5 separate regions of the Homo sapiens genome follow, and all the other regions are linked to region 4. The links are contacts of gene promoters, found by promoter capture Hi-C in blood cells and fetal thymus (Javierre and others, 2016). All regions are on one chromosome and are shown on one strand. The core of a region is centred on a gene start or on the middle of the fragment in contact, and the rest is flanking DNA. Distances in the headings are between cores, read along the strand shown. Region 1 overlaps AHDC1 (AT-hook DNA binding motif containing 1). Region 2 holds the start of LOC101928391 (a long non-coding RNA gene). Region 3 overlaps LOC101928391 (a long non-coding RNA gene). Region 4 holds the start of TMEM222 (transmembrane protein 222). Region 5 overlaps AHDC1 (AT-hook DNA binding motif containing 1).

Region 1 (2,700 bases), core at 45-2,544, 260 kb before region 4:
CTCTTGCTGGGATCTAGATATTGGGGATTGATGAACAAGAAATGCACTAAATAGTGTGTATAAAGCAGACTAAGCCATCATCTCTGGCTGAACCTAGATTCACGGAAAACTGGGGTGGGGTGGTGTGGGGTGGTGAGATTTAGACTAACACATAAGGCTGTGGTCTAGATATGAGAAAGTGAGTGAGCTAAAGTCACACAGATACGGATCCAGAGAAGGCAAAGCTTTAGTCCAAAGCCAGAACCCACAAGACCTAGAACACCAGCCTGGGCAACGTAGTGAGGCCCTGTCTCTACAAAAACGTTAAAAAGTTAGTTGGGCATGGTAGCATGTAGTCCCAGCTATGCAAGAGGCTGAGGTGGGAAGATTGAGCCCAGAAGATTGAGGCTGCAGTGAGCTGTGATTATACCGCTGCACTCTAGCCTGAGTGACAAAGCCAGACACTGTCTTAAAAAAAAAAAAAAAAAAGATTTAGAACAGGACTATCCAGTAGACACATAATAGAAGCCATATATGTGTCCGGGTGTGGTGGCTCACGCCTGTAATCCCAGCACTTTGGGAGGCCGAGGCAGGTGAATCACAAGGTCAGGAGTTCAAGACCAGCCTGGCCAACATAGTAAAACCCCGTCTCTACTAAAAATACAAAAAATTAGCTGGGCATGGTGGCAGGCACCTATAATCCCAGCTACTCGGGAGTCTGAGGCAGGAGAATCTCTTGAACCTGGGAGGTGGAGGTTGCAGTGAGCCGAGATAGCGCCATTTCACTCCAGCCTGTGCGACAGTGTAAGACTCCGTGTCAAAAAAAAAAAAGAGAAGCCACATATGTAATTTAAAATTTTCAAGTAGCCACATTAAACAAAGTAAAAAGACATAAAAGGAAGTAAGTGGAATTAATTTTAACAATTTATCTTTCTTTTTTTTTTTGAGAGGGAGTCTTGCTCTGTTGCCCTCACTGGAGTGCAGTGGCACAATCTCAGCTCACTGCAACCTCCACCTCCCGAGTTGAAGCGATTCTCCTGCCTCAGCCCCCCAAGTAGCTGGGATTACAGGTGCCCACCACCACACCCAGCTAATTTTTGTATTTTTTGTAGAGATGGGGTGTCACCGTGTTGGCCAGGCTGGTCTCGAACTCCTGACCTCAGGTGATCCACCCACCTCGGCCTCCCAAAGTGTGGGATTACAGGCATGAGCCACTGTGCCTGGCCCAACAATTTATCTTATATAACCCAATATATCCAAAGTACTAGCATTTTAATGTATAAGCCTTATAAAAATTATTAATGAGGTATTTTATATTTAAAAAATACATTAAGACTTCAGAATCTGGTGTATATTTTGTACTTACAGCACATTCCAGTTCTGACTAGCCACACTCACATGTGGCTAGTGGCTACCATGTTGGACAGCACAGATTTAGAAACAGGCTTTTCTTTGGGACCAGGGTCCAGAGGAGTTATGAGCCAGAATAATCTGGAACAAGTAGGGTTGTACTCGCCAGAGGTTACACCCTTAGCAGACTTGAACTGGGTGTAGTCTGACTGCCTGGGAGAACATCTGGGCTGTGGGCTGGGGAGTCAGGGGTTCCCTCCCCTGGAGTCTTAACTCCCTGGCCTCAGGTGGAATCTCTGTTGGGGCTCTGGCCTCTCAGGGTATTCAGTATCACCTCTGAGCACTGGCCCCCAGTTCCTGTCCCTTATCCCAGTGTCACCTCAGTCTTGTCTGGCCTGGCAGGTCAGGGGGAGGGGAGCAGGGTGGCAGCTGGACCCTTGAGAGAGCAGGAGCTCCACCCCTCCGAGCCAGCTGCTGCCAGCCTTCCTGGACTGACTCTGTGGAAACAGGGGGCCCAGAGACAGAAATAAACTGCCAGGTTTCCGGGGCGGAGTGGGGGGCCTGCCAGTCTTTGTGCTTCCTTGCTTGGGAGTGGGGGGAGCAGGAAGCAGCTCCAAGCCCTGTCCTAGGCTGTTCCCCCTGTATGCCATCTCCCCTCACCCCCAGATGCCCCTGCCCCCATGGCTCTGAGGCTAGGCTGAGTCTAGAATTTGATGGATTAGTGAAACCTAGGGGCCCATAGTCTGGGACTGACACTTGGGAGCAGAGAGTGGTCCTTAGGACTCTGGTCCCAGCTTGGTGCCCATTTCTAGAATCCTGTCCTGGGGGCCCCTCTAGCTGCCGCACGGCAGGAGCTGAACAGATTCAGAGGGCTGCAGTGGGGCAACCGACCAGGAGCTGAATGATTTGTATTGGATGCCCACGTCTGTCATTCACTGGCCAAAGGCAATTTTCTTTCCTCATTTATGATCCTATCCCCGGGTCTCAGGAGGGATGACTGTGTCCTCCCATCCCTTCCTCTTGGGCCTAAGCTTCCCCATCCGTTGTGGGATTTGGACTGTGAGCTACTGGAGAGGGAGTGAGGGACAGGGACAGAGTAGCCAGGAAGAATGTTGAGGGATGCTGTCTGAAGCTGCTGGCTTTGTGACAGGGGCGCTGTCACCAGTGCAAGGTAGGGTACTGGTCTCTGTGTTCATGTCATGACGGTGGGTGCTGGCGTTGGGGGGTGTGGGCAGGCGGTGAGCACTGGGATGCACTGTATATATGTGTGTGTGTGAGGTGCTAGACTCAGGATGGCCAGTGCCTAGACAGGGCCAGGGTCACGGGTCACCACATGCCCAAAAGCAGCCTCCACTGTTGTAAGGGTGACAC
Region 2 (2,700 bases), core at 32-2,531, 290 kb after region 4:
GGACAGTTGTTGTTGTTGTTAGGGGCTCATGTTTTGCCTTCCAGCGGCGCCGGGCGAGCAGATTAGCCTGGCCTCGTTCTCACGGTGGGAGACCTCCTCCGTCCTCCCCAGGAACCACGGCCCCTGCCCTGCCCAGATCAGCAATAGCCCTCCATAAGCCTCCCACCTGGAGGGAGGTGGCGGGCAGGGAACAGCCAGGTAACCGTGGGCTCCTCACTGCAAGGGCCCAGCTCAGATTGAAGGCAGAGGGAACGAGCGAGCGAGGAGGAAGTGGGGAGAGACGGAAGGAGGGGCAAGCGAATCAAAGCACTAGGGATTTACTCACCCAAGCAGGGACAGGGAAGGAGATGGGGCTAGCAGGGCGGGGGACGCCCATGCGCCGCCCCTTCAGAGGACAATTCCCGGGGCCTCACTCCCTCCCACTCTCTCCCTCCCCCGCGGCCCATTCCCGGTGCGACTCCTCCCGTGGGAACTGCTGTCGCTGCAGCGGGCGCCCTGCCACGTGGATGCCAGGAATCAGACTGGGCGGCTGCGGCAGGGCGGGCGCTTCCCTGGGCAGCGATCAGGGCAGGCCTGGGAGAGGGCTGACCCTCACTGGGGTCTGGGGAGAGGGCGGCTCTGGGCGGAAGGGCACCTCGGGAACTGGACGCCCTGGGCTTCGCAGCCCCTCAGATCTGCAGCCAAGGTCATCTTTTCCCAGCTTGAGGAGCAACAACTGGGCACCACCTGGGAGCAGGTTAGAAATGCAGGCTCTCAGGTCTAGCCCCAGACTTGCTGACTCAGAACCTGCACATTCCAAGGAATGTGCCCCAGGTGGCTCCCGGGCACTTTCAAATTTGAGAAGCCTTTTTTCTACAAGAGTAGGCCTGAGTATTTACAGGTTTAAAAAGACGCGGTGGCTCACGACTGTAATCCCAGCACTTCGGGAGGCCGAGGCCGGCTGATCACGAGGCCAAGAGATGGAGACCACCCTGGCCAACGTGGTGAAACCCCGTCTCTACTAAAAATACCAAAAAAAAAAAAAAAAAAAAAAAAATAGCTGGGCTTGGTGGCGTGCGCCTGTAGTCCTAGCTACTCGGGAGGCTGAGGCAGGGAGGATCGCTTGAACCCAGGAGGCAGAGGTTGCAGTGAGCCGAGATCGCGCCACTGCACTCCAGCCTGGTGACAGAGCAAGACTCCGTCTCAAAAAAAAAAAAAAAAAAAAAAAAAAAGACAGACAAGGCCAAGGCCAGGCACGGTGGCTCATGCTTGTAATCCCAGCACTTTGGGAGGCCGAGGAGGGCGGATCACTTGAGCCCAGGAATTCAAGACCAGCCTGGGCAACACTGTGAGACCCAGTCTCTACAAAAAAAAAAAAAAAAAAAAAAAAATTAGCCAGGTGTGGTGGCGTGCACCTGTAGTCTCAGCTACTGGTGAGGCTGAGGTGGGAGAATAGATTCAGCCCAGGAGGCAGAGGTTGCAGTAACCCTTGATTGAGCCACTACACTCTAGACTGGGCAACAGAGCGAGGCTCTGTCTCAAAATAAATAAATAAATAGGCTGGGCGCAGTGGCTCACGCCTGTAATCCTAGCACTTTGGGAGGCCGAGGCGCACCTGAGGTCAGGAGTTTAAGACCAGCGTAGCCAACATGGTGAAACCCCGTCTCTACTAAAAATACAAAAATTAGCCAGGCGTCGGCCAGGCGCGGTGGCTCACGCCTGTAATCCCAGCACTTTGGGAGGCCGAGGCGGACGGATCACAAGATCAGGAGATCAAGACCATCCTGGCTAACATAGTGAAACCCGTCTCCTCTACTAAAAATACAAAAAAAATTAGCCGGGCATGGTGGTGGGCGTCTGTAGTCCTAGCTACTCGAGAGGCTGAGGCAGGAGAATGGCGTGAACCCAGGAGGCGGAGCTTGCAGTGAGCCGAGATCACGCCACTGCACTCCAGCCTGGGCGACAGAGTGAGACTCCATCTTAAAAAAAAACAAAACAAAACAAAAGAAAAAAATTAGCCAGGCGTGGTGTCACATGCCTGTAATCCTAGCTACTTGGGAGGCTGAGGCAGGAGAATCACTTGAACCCGGGAGGAAGGGGTTGCAGTGAGCCAAGATCACGCCATTGCACACCAGCCTGGACAATAAGAGTGAATAAGAGTGAAACTCCATCTCAAAAAAAAAAAAAAATTAGTAGTGTATAAATAGACCACATAATCTATGAATTGTATTCCATTATAGGAAAGGGGCATTGCAAGATACTTGTTACAAAAGGGGGCGTGAGGCCTGCTGGGGCTGGGAACCCACTGAGGAACACTCACTCCTGTTTTCAATCAACAGCATGGCTCTGAGGAAACAGAAGCAGGAACTAAATGGCGCTTGAATCTGAGGAGCTTCTACCCTGGCAGGCGAGATGAGATAGAGACGCAAATCGCCACCTTCCTGAGCCTCAGTTTCTTCACCTGTGAAATGGGCTTTCTCACCACTCACCTCTGCCTGCCTCCCTGCAGGGTCGGATCAGATGGGCCGAACCAGCTTCTAGACAGGGAGGGGCTTCATGAGCCGCTCCACACCTGAGGGAAGGGAGATTGGAACATCTGCCCTGCTCACATCGTGCCAGGGACAGCTCAGGCTTCTGTGCCTATCTTGGTCTTCAGACTCCAGCCTCTGGCCCTGCAGATTCTCTCTCAGGGCCTCGTCTGCTTTCTCTGGTGTCCCTCTC
Region 3 (2,700 bases), core at 86-2,585, 270 kb after region 4:
TGGAGGATGCCTGAGAAACCAGCTTGTAAGAGCAGAGACGTCCCAGTGCCACTTTCAGTCGTGTGCTGAGCCACTCTATAACTCTTCCAGGGACCCACAAATCTTAGTGAAATTCTGCTTACAGAGCAGTCTGGTATCCACGGTTTCTTGGGAGAAGAAACGGGCTGCATCCTACATTTGAGTCAATTCCAGGGCAGAAATAAAGGGAACAGCTGCTAGAATTCAGCAGAAGCCGGAAATCAGAGGCACACAATTGTAAGCCTGAGAAATTGCAGAAGCCTTGTGGAAAGTAAGGGATGGGGTCTGAGCCAACCTTATTTCAATCCCAGTGGGCTGGCGGACCCCAGCTACCAACCATGGGTTCTGCCTAGGGGCAGATATTTGCCCCCCCGCTTCCTTGCTAAAAGAAGCTTGTTTTGTTCTGGTGGGAGGACAATGTACTAATTACCCCCAGGTGGATGGTGACTGGGATATTTACATTTGATCCACTCCCCTCTGCTGGTAATTGGGTTGGGGAGAACCATGGGACCCTGTTCTGGCCAATGAGATAAGAGGGGGAGGCTGCTGGGGGCTTCTGGGAGGAATTTTCCTCCTCTTACAAAAAGAGATGTTTTAGGAGGACCCCTGTCCAAGCCTCCCTTCCTGAGATGCTGCCCGTGGCAAATGCAGCCACACAAAAGTGCAGGCTCCAGGGTCAAACCATCTGGGCTAAAAGCATGGCTCTGCCTCCGATTGGCTGTGTTGTCTTAAGCAGATTACTTGACCTTTCTGTACCTCGTGTTCCTCCTCTGCAAAATGAAAATAATTGGACTTTCTTCTCAGGGTGCTGTGAAAATCAAATGAGTGAATACACCTAAAATGCCCAGACAGTTCTAGCACATGATAAGTACTCAATATATAACAGCTGTTATTTAGTTGCTCTCTGTGGATATGATGCTTGGAGCCACGGTAGTCATCTTTCAACCATGAGGGCCTTGACTCAAAAATGGTCTACCCCAAGATATCTTAAGATAAAAGTCCTGTGGGGTTTTTTTGTTGTGTTTTTTTTTTTTTTTTTTTTTTTTTGAGACACTCTCACTCCATTGCAGAGGCTGGAGGCTGGACTGTAGTGGTGTGATCATGGCTCACTGCAGCCTTGACCTCCCAGGCTCAGACGATCCTCCTGCCTCAGCCTCCTGAGTAGCTGGGACCACAGGCACATACCACCGCACCTGGCTCATTTAAAAAAATTATTCGGAGAAGGCCGGGCACAGTGGCTCACGCCTGTAATCCCAGCACTTTGGGAGGCTGAGGCGGGCAGATCACGAGTTCAGGAGTTCAAGACCAGCCTGGCCAACATGAGGAAACCCCATCTCTACTAAAAATACAAAAATTAGCCAGGCGTGGTGGTATGTGCCTGTAGTCCCAGCTACTTGGGAGGCTGAGGCAGAAGAATCACTTGAACCCGGGAGGTGGAGGTTGCAGTGAGCCGAGATCGCACCACTGCGCTCCAGCCTGGGCAACAGAGCAAGCCTCTGTCTCCAAAAAAAAAAAAAAAAAAAAAATTATTTGTAAAGATAGAGGTCTCCTCTTATGTTGGCTAAGCTAGGAAACTCCCAACTCTTTAGACAACTTTTAGCTTAGTATTCTGTTACTTGCAGCCTAAATCTCCCTAACCAATTCATAGATAAAAACTTGATACTTATGATTGTTTTATGATAAGAAATTAAACCACCTAATCCATGGGATACTCATATTTACTGAGAACACTGCTGAGAACCCTGGAGGCAGATTACACAGCATTGACTGCTAGTCATCCTCAAATGCGTAGTTTCTCCTTCTCTCTTTAATAAATAGAATGGCCATATTTTAGCTGGGCACATGCTGCGTGGCTAGAAAGCACATTTCCCAGGCCGGGCCTGGTGGCTCACACCTGTAATCCCAGCACTTTGGGAGGCGGAGGCGGGTGGATCACTTGAGGTCAGGAGTTCAAGACTAGCCTGGCGAACATGATGAAACCCCGTCTCTACTAAAAATACAAAAAATTGGCCGGGTGTGGTGGCCAGTGCCTGTAATCCCAGCTACTTGGGAGGGTGAGGCAGGAGAATTGCTTAAACACAGGAGGCGGAGGTTGCAGTGAGCCGAGATCACGCCATTGCACTCCAGTCTGGGCGACGGAGCGAGCGAGACTCTTCATCTCAAAAAAAAGAAGAAGAAGAAGAAAGAAAGTACATTTCCCAGTTTCCCTTGCAACTAGGTGAAGCCATGGGCCCAAGCTTTAGCAAAGAAATATGAATCGAAGTGATACGTGCCAAAGGATTGGGTATTTTCCCACCTCACTCTTCTGTCTCTGTTTTTTTTTTTTTTGAAACAGGGTCTCACTCTGTCACCCAGGCTGGGGTGCAATGGTGTGATCACAGCTCACTGCAACCTCCACCTCCTGGACTCAAGCAATCCTCCTACCTCAGCCTCCGGAGTAGCTGGGACTAGAGGTGTGGGCCACCATACCCAGCTTATTTTATTTTATTTTATTTTTTTTGAGACGGAGTCTCACTCTGTCGCCCAGGCTGGAGTGCAGTGGTGCGATTTCGGCTCACTGCAACCTCCACCTCCCAGGTTCAAGCAATTCTCTGCCTCAGCCTCCAGAATAGCTGGTATTACAGGCCCCCACCACCACACCCAGCTAATTCTTGTATTTTTAGTAGAATCGGGGTTTCACCA
Region 4 (2,700 bases), core at 92-2,591:
CTGTCCCAATATTTTATTTTTAAAGAACAGATTTGGATGCTCTTATATGCATAAGTACTTGAAAACACAAAATAATTCAAGTATTTTAACATAATTCAAAAACTACGATCTTTTTAGAATCAGCAACACCTAAGGCCCCAAATGATCCCTTCTCCACATCACCACTGGCTGTTATTGATAGCGGAACAAGCTATCCCATCAGGTGAGAGTGGATAAGATGTAGTGCAAAGAGCAAGTTAGATCAGAAGACTGAGCTCTTCATGCCTTTGCTTATTGGGGTGCGAACCTGATCAAGACACTTAATGCTACAAGCAGCTCAGCTTCACCATCTGAGAAGATAACCTACCTTAGAAAATGGATGTTTAATTCTGATAAAATGGGTGTTTAAGAGCTTGGCAAACTATCCAGCACGGTGAGGAGGGGTTACGTTTATCAGCTGTCAAGGTTGAAGCAGGAGGGCAAACCACCTCTCCCCATATGAGAGCTCCTCCCAAAAGGCGCCAAGTAGTACCAGAGCACCTGCTTCTCCCCTGACAAAGGCTGATGTTACAGAAAGAACTTTGGTCTGGGAGGCAGACAACCTGGGATCTAAACCCAGTTTGCAACTGAGATGGCACGTGAGACAAAGGGTTGGACTCTCAGATCTCTGGGGGCCCTTCCAATGTTGACATCCCAGGATCTCGTGTGGTCCCAACCAAACTCCCACTCTTGCTCCCAGACCCAGCAGTATGTCTGGAATATGGTAAGCGACCAGTAAGCATTTGCTCAATGAGAGAATAAACCAGTGAATTAATAAAAATGTCTCCTCAGATCCGATAAGGGGCTCCCTCTTCTACACACTCACAGCTCGAGTCTCCCAGCCACTTGCCCTTTCCTGCTGGCCTACAACTCTCTCCCTGGCTACACCAGGTGTATTGAGAGCAGGGAGCGTGTCCCAGCCGTGTGCACAAACTGGCACTACATGGATGGCGGGGTTCTGGTGACTGGGCGAGGCGTGCGGGCCAGACCCGAGGAAAAGGCTTGCTGCGCGTTGGGGCCGGAGGCTAGCCCGGCCCGACTCCGGCTCTCCCTGGGCCCTCCTCGTCCCCAGGCGGATGCCGGAAGAGACTCACGTGAGCACCGGGATGGGCGTCCACACCACGCAGTAGGGGAAGCGACTCCGTTCCACATCCATGGCGACGCCGCCGGAGCCTTGATATTGCTTCATGTCCGTCTCGGCCGCCGTCGGCGCCTCCACTTCCGCCATCCTGGGCGGGGGTGGCGGCGGCGGCAACAAGAGCAGAGAACTCCCTTCCGCTTCCGCCATGCGGCGCGCGCCCCGCTCCGACTGGCCCCGGCTCTGGTGCCGCTCGTCCCCATGGCGTCACTTCCCGGAGATGGGGTCCGCCCCGCTTGGCCTTCCCCCGGGAATCCGAGCCGCGTTCCTCTGGGCCCGGCCAGCCCCGCCCCACTCCCTATGCGCCTGCCAGCCCCGAGTCTTTGCCGCTTATGCCCCGCGGCTGCAGAAGGGATGCTCTCAGGCAGTTCGCAGTCTAGCGCCGGAGACTTATAGAGAACTCTAATTCAGTACGCTGAGGGCTCCTAGGAGGTGTGGTACAGTCGCTATTTATTGAGCACTTCTTAGGTGCCAAGCACTTGACATGAATTGTTTCTAATCCCCATAAACTAATTAGACATCCAAATTAGGTATTCCCTCCTGTTACAGGTGAGAAACTGAGGTTCAAAAGGTGAGAGACCACGATGCAAACCCAAGTCTTTTTTTTTTTTTTTTTTTCTGAGGCGGAATTTTTTCTCTTGTTGCCCAGGCTGGAGGGCAATGGCACAATCTCGGCTCACTGCAACCTCCACCTCCCAGGTTCAGGCGATCCTGCCTCGGCCTCCCGAGTAGCTGGGATAACAGGCGCGTGCCACCACGCCCGGCTAATTTTTGTATTTTTAGTAGAGGTGGCGTTTCACCATGTTAGCCAGGATGGTCTCAAACTCCTGACCCTGTGATCCGCCCGCCTTGGCCTCCCAAAGTGCTGGGATTACAGGCGTGAGCCACCGCGCCTGGCCCAAACCCAAGTCTTATACCTCCCTTGCCCTTTTCATTCTGTGGCCCTCTCACGAGGTAGTGGTAGCATAAAGGAAGACACACACAGTTGTGTGTGCGCACGTGTGTGTGTGTGTGTGTTTTATTGTATATACAGGGAAGACTTGCTGGAAGATAGGATATTATTGAGTTGAGTCTTGATGTTTGCCATGTGGCACAGGAGTGGAAGTATGAGTGCAGCGGTACAAAGAAAGGAAGGCCGTGCAGAGCAGTGTGTGCAAGAGTGTGAATACTTACTGGAGTAAATCATAAGCCTTAGATGTGATCCAATCCCTTCATTGTACAAATGGGAAAACGGGCTCAGGGAAGTTAATTGTTTGAGATCACACACAACCATAATTAGAGAGAAGCCAGGCTCAAATGTTGGAGACTTTTGGCTTTTTAAAGGATGTCAAGACAAAGAAAATGAAGTCTACTGGGGTCTACTGGGGTGGGGAGGGGAAGTTGGGGACAGCCCAAAGTCAGAAGGAAGGCTGCCACTAAAAATCAGCCTTAAAGAAAAAAAAAAAAGAATAAAAAGAGTAATCAGGTAAAGGAAGGTATGGACAAATGCACTCAGGAAGTTAGGAGCTTCCCATTTGGGGAAGGTCCTTCTTCCACTGAATTAC
Region 5 (2,700 bases), core at 166-2,665, 270 kb before region 4:
TCTTGTCTTGGGAAACACCCCCTCACATTCACCCGGGGGATGCCCCTCGTATAAACGCAGCCCCCACGGTCACACCTGTCTACACAGGCCCTGCGTCTCTCTCTCTCTCTCTCTCACACACACACTCTCACACTGTCACACACACACACACACACAAATTTGTGACATGTAAATCTCCACCCTCACACTCATTCTGCATCTCACGAACATAGCTGGTGAACACGCACCTGTGCTTCCTTCCCTGTACAGGTGTTGACTCACAGGCCCTGTCATGGGACACCCTCCTACATACAGTGGCAGTCACACCAGAGCACACAGAACCTCCCCCTGCCACCTGCCCCCCACCCCCATACTCTAACCCGGCTGGCAAGGTGGGGAGGCAGAAGGTCCTCTCAGTCGGTGAGAGCCCTTCTGGAAAGCTTCAGGGCCTGACCTGGACACAGAGAAATGCCCAGTGGCTTGGGTAGTGGGGAGCTGTCTCAAAGGTGGTGAGGCATATGTGTATAAACATGTGCTTGCATGTGCAGGTAGAAGGGATGGCGAGTGTCCTCATGGAGTGTGAGAGAGACTGGGTGTATGTGAGATAGGGTACGGGTGTGACAGGGAGCTCCAAGGTGTGTGGAGTGTGTGGGTGTGTGTGTGAGAGTGACTTGTCAGGTATGTATGTGTGGATGCACGTTTATGTGATAGGTGTGTGTGTAAGATGGGTGTGTGTAACTGTGGGTTTTGCAGGGTGGGGTATGTGTGATGGGGGTACATATATGAAGGTTTAAGGGCATGGGGCAAACTGCATGTGTGAGCGTGCAGTGGCAGGCATGCATGTGGGAAGGTGTATGAGTGCGTGTGAGTGTAGGGACTATGCAGATATGAGGGTGTAGTTCAGGTGTGAGGCTGGGAGCCTGTTGCCTGGATTGGAGCAGTGTTTTCCAAGGCCTGAGTGCTACCTGAACAGGAACATCCAGCACAAGCACGTGGGAAGGGGCCCCCGGCCTGGAAGTTGGGCACTGACCCACACAGATGCACAAGGACAGACATACCCGCCCCTGTCCTCCCTCTTCCTCTCTTCTGGCGTCAGTGGTTTTTAAAGGAGCCTCCGTGAGGACTGTTTGCTGTGCAGTTCCCCCACCCCCAGCCTGTGTCTCTTCAAACGCAGTGCTGCCCTCCAGGCAGCTTTGTGGAGGCTCCTGCCTCGACCATCTGAAGGCAGATGGGTGGGCTTGGATCCGCTGCTGCCCCCCAGGGAGCGAGGAGGCAGCTCTGCTCCTTGGGCCTGGGCACAGGCTGAGACAGATGGACTGCCTGTCTCAACACCCCCGCACAGGCACCCCATACCATAGGGGTTCTAGCGGGTAGCCCCCAGTTAGGCCCCGGAGCAAAGGCCAGGATGCTGCCCTTCATTCTCCCAGAGGGGCATCCCCCCTAACACACACAAACCCTGCAGCCCCATCACCTCTCTGGGGTCCAGGGACTCAGTTACAGCTCCCAACACCTTCTAAATAGACAACTGCCCCACATACACACTCACAGCTCTAACACCTCTAAAACACAACTGCTCCACCTACAACACCCAGCCCACACACTTCCACACACACACTCTACATACAGATACCCCCCGACATCCAGCTACCTCACATGCACATACCCCCAAACACACAACCACCACATGCTTACCCACAACCTGCAACACCTCCCTGACACCAGGAACCTGGTTACAGCCCTCATACCTGTGCATGCACGGACGATAGCCTGTGGCACATCTCTGATATCAGAGACCCATTCTTCCCTTCCCACGTATGGAGGGACCTCAGGTCTCTAACGCCTCCCCAGACCCTTGCAGGTACCCAATTAAAATCCCAATAACCTTTCCAGAGACACTCCCCAGCTCCTCCCCAAAACCACAGTGCATCCTCCACCAACCACAACACCTTTCCAGGCACATGTTCACAGCCCTAGTACTTAACCAAAACCCACATTTTTATGACCCCCCAATACATCCCTAAACACCCCAACACACACACAATCACACACACACACACACACAGCTATCACACCCTCAGCATATCAACCCCCTATCCAACCCCAACACTGCCAGATACACCCAGGACCCAGCTACAGCCCTGCTACCTTCCCACTGACTCATACCCTCAAAGCCCTGACACCTCCCCAGACACACACACTCTGCCCACAGCCCCCAACGTTTCTCCCAGCTATAGCTCAGCACTTCCCCAAACACCGGTATCATCCCCTATACCTTTCCAAACATACAGCCTCCCCCTACAACACACATACACTCACTGCTTCAAACACCCACTCAAACAAGAACACCCTCTGTAGCCACAACATTTGCCTCAAACACACAGACATGGCTTCGGTTCTAGTATATCTCTAACAGATCAGGCCCCGAAGCTTCTAATACCTCCTGAAACTTGTGCACACTGCCTCCTGGATCCCGGCACCTCCTCGACAGGCAGTCCTAATGGCCCGGCCCCACCGCTTCCCAGACAGTCTCAGCTCCGGTACTTTTCCTCAGCCACCTAAGGGCCCAGGGACACCCCTACACCTCTCCAAACACCCCGATACCACACCTGTACACAAAGACAGCCTCAGCTAGTCACAACCCTGCACCCATTCTGTGCTCCGCCTGCACCCCACGGCACCCTGTCACATACCCCGCCTAATCCTTCTGCAGCCCTCACTCCC

Evidence for each region. Contacts are between HindIII fragments. The CHiCAGO score rates a contact against its expected background, and 5 or more counts as called.
Region 1: a fragment that was not itself captured here is called in contact with the fragment with the promoter of TMEM222 in region 4 in 4 of 17 cell types (M0 macrophages, endothelial precursors, M1 macrophages and 1 more); the score reaches 6.0 in M0 macrophages.
Region 2: a fragment that was not itself captured here is called in contact with the fragment with the promoter of TMEM222 in region 4 in 2 of 17 cell types (endothelial precursors and M1 macrophages); the score reaches 5.8 in endothelial precursors.
Region 3: a contact is called between a fragment that was not itself captured here and the fragment with the promoter of TMEM222 in region 4, in 1 of 17 cell types (endothelial precursors). The highest score is 7.1, in endothelial precursors.
Region 5: a contact is called between a fragment that was not itself captured here and the fragment with the promoter of TMEM222 in region 4, in 2 of 17 cell types (naive B cells and M1 macrophages). The highest score is 5.6, in naive B cells.

Annotation. Positions count from the first base shown.
Region 1 is chr1:27,576,813-27,579,512 of GRCh38, reverse strand. The region is part of intron 3 of AHDC1 (AT-hook DNA binding motif containing 1); the gene reads left to right. Among named protein-coding and RNA genes, the nearest start is that of AHDC1, 26 kb to the left of the region's middle. The HindIII fragment of the contact is 2,136 bases long and covers 227-2,362 here.
Region 2 is chr1:27,029,455-27,032,154 of GRCh38, reverse strand. LOC101928391 (a long non-coding RNA gene) reads right to left here and starts at 397. Exons shown (of 8, transcript XR_007065559.1): 1 at 326-397. The HindIII fragment of the contact is 2,970 bases long and covers 1-2,700 here.
Region 3 is chr1:27,055,394-27,058,093 of GRCh38, reverse strand. All of the region lies in intron 5 of LOC101928391 (a long non-coding RNA gene), which reads right to left. Among named protein-coding and RNA genes, the nearest start is that of TENT5B, 44 kb to the right of the region's middle. RefSeq lists a silencer at 1-56. The HindIII fragment of the contact is 1,845 bases long and covers 413-2,257 here.
Region 4 is chr1:27,320,804-27,323,503 of GRCh38, reverse strand. TMEM222 (transmembrane protein 222) reads right to left here and starts at 1,341. Exons shown (of 6, transcript NM_032125.3): 1 at 1,113-1,341. The coding sequence starts at 1,306. RefSeq lists enhancers at 286-832, 984-1,333, 833-1,380, 1,381-1,927. The HindIII fragment of the contact is 7,674 bases long and covers 1-2,700 here.
Region 5 is chr1:27,594,792-27,597,491 of GRCh38, reverse strand. All of the region lies in intron 3 of AHDC1 (AT-hook DNA binding motif containing 1), which reads left to right. Among named protein-coding and RNA genes, the nearest start is that of AHDC1, 8.0 kb to the left of the region's middle. RefSeq lists enhancers at 645-1,170, 1,171-1,696, 2,311-2,440. The HindIII fragment of the contact is 1,987 bases long and covers 422-2,408 here.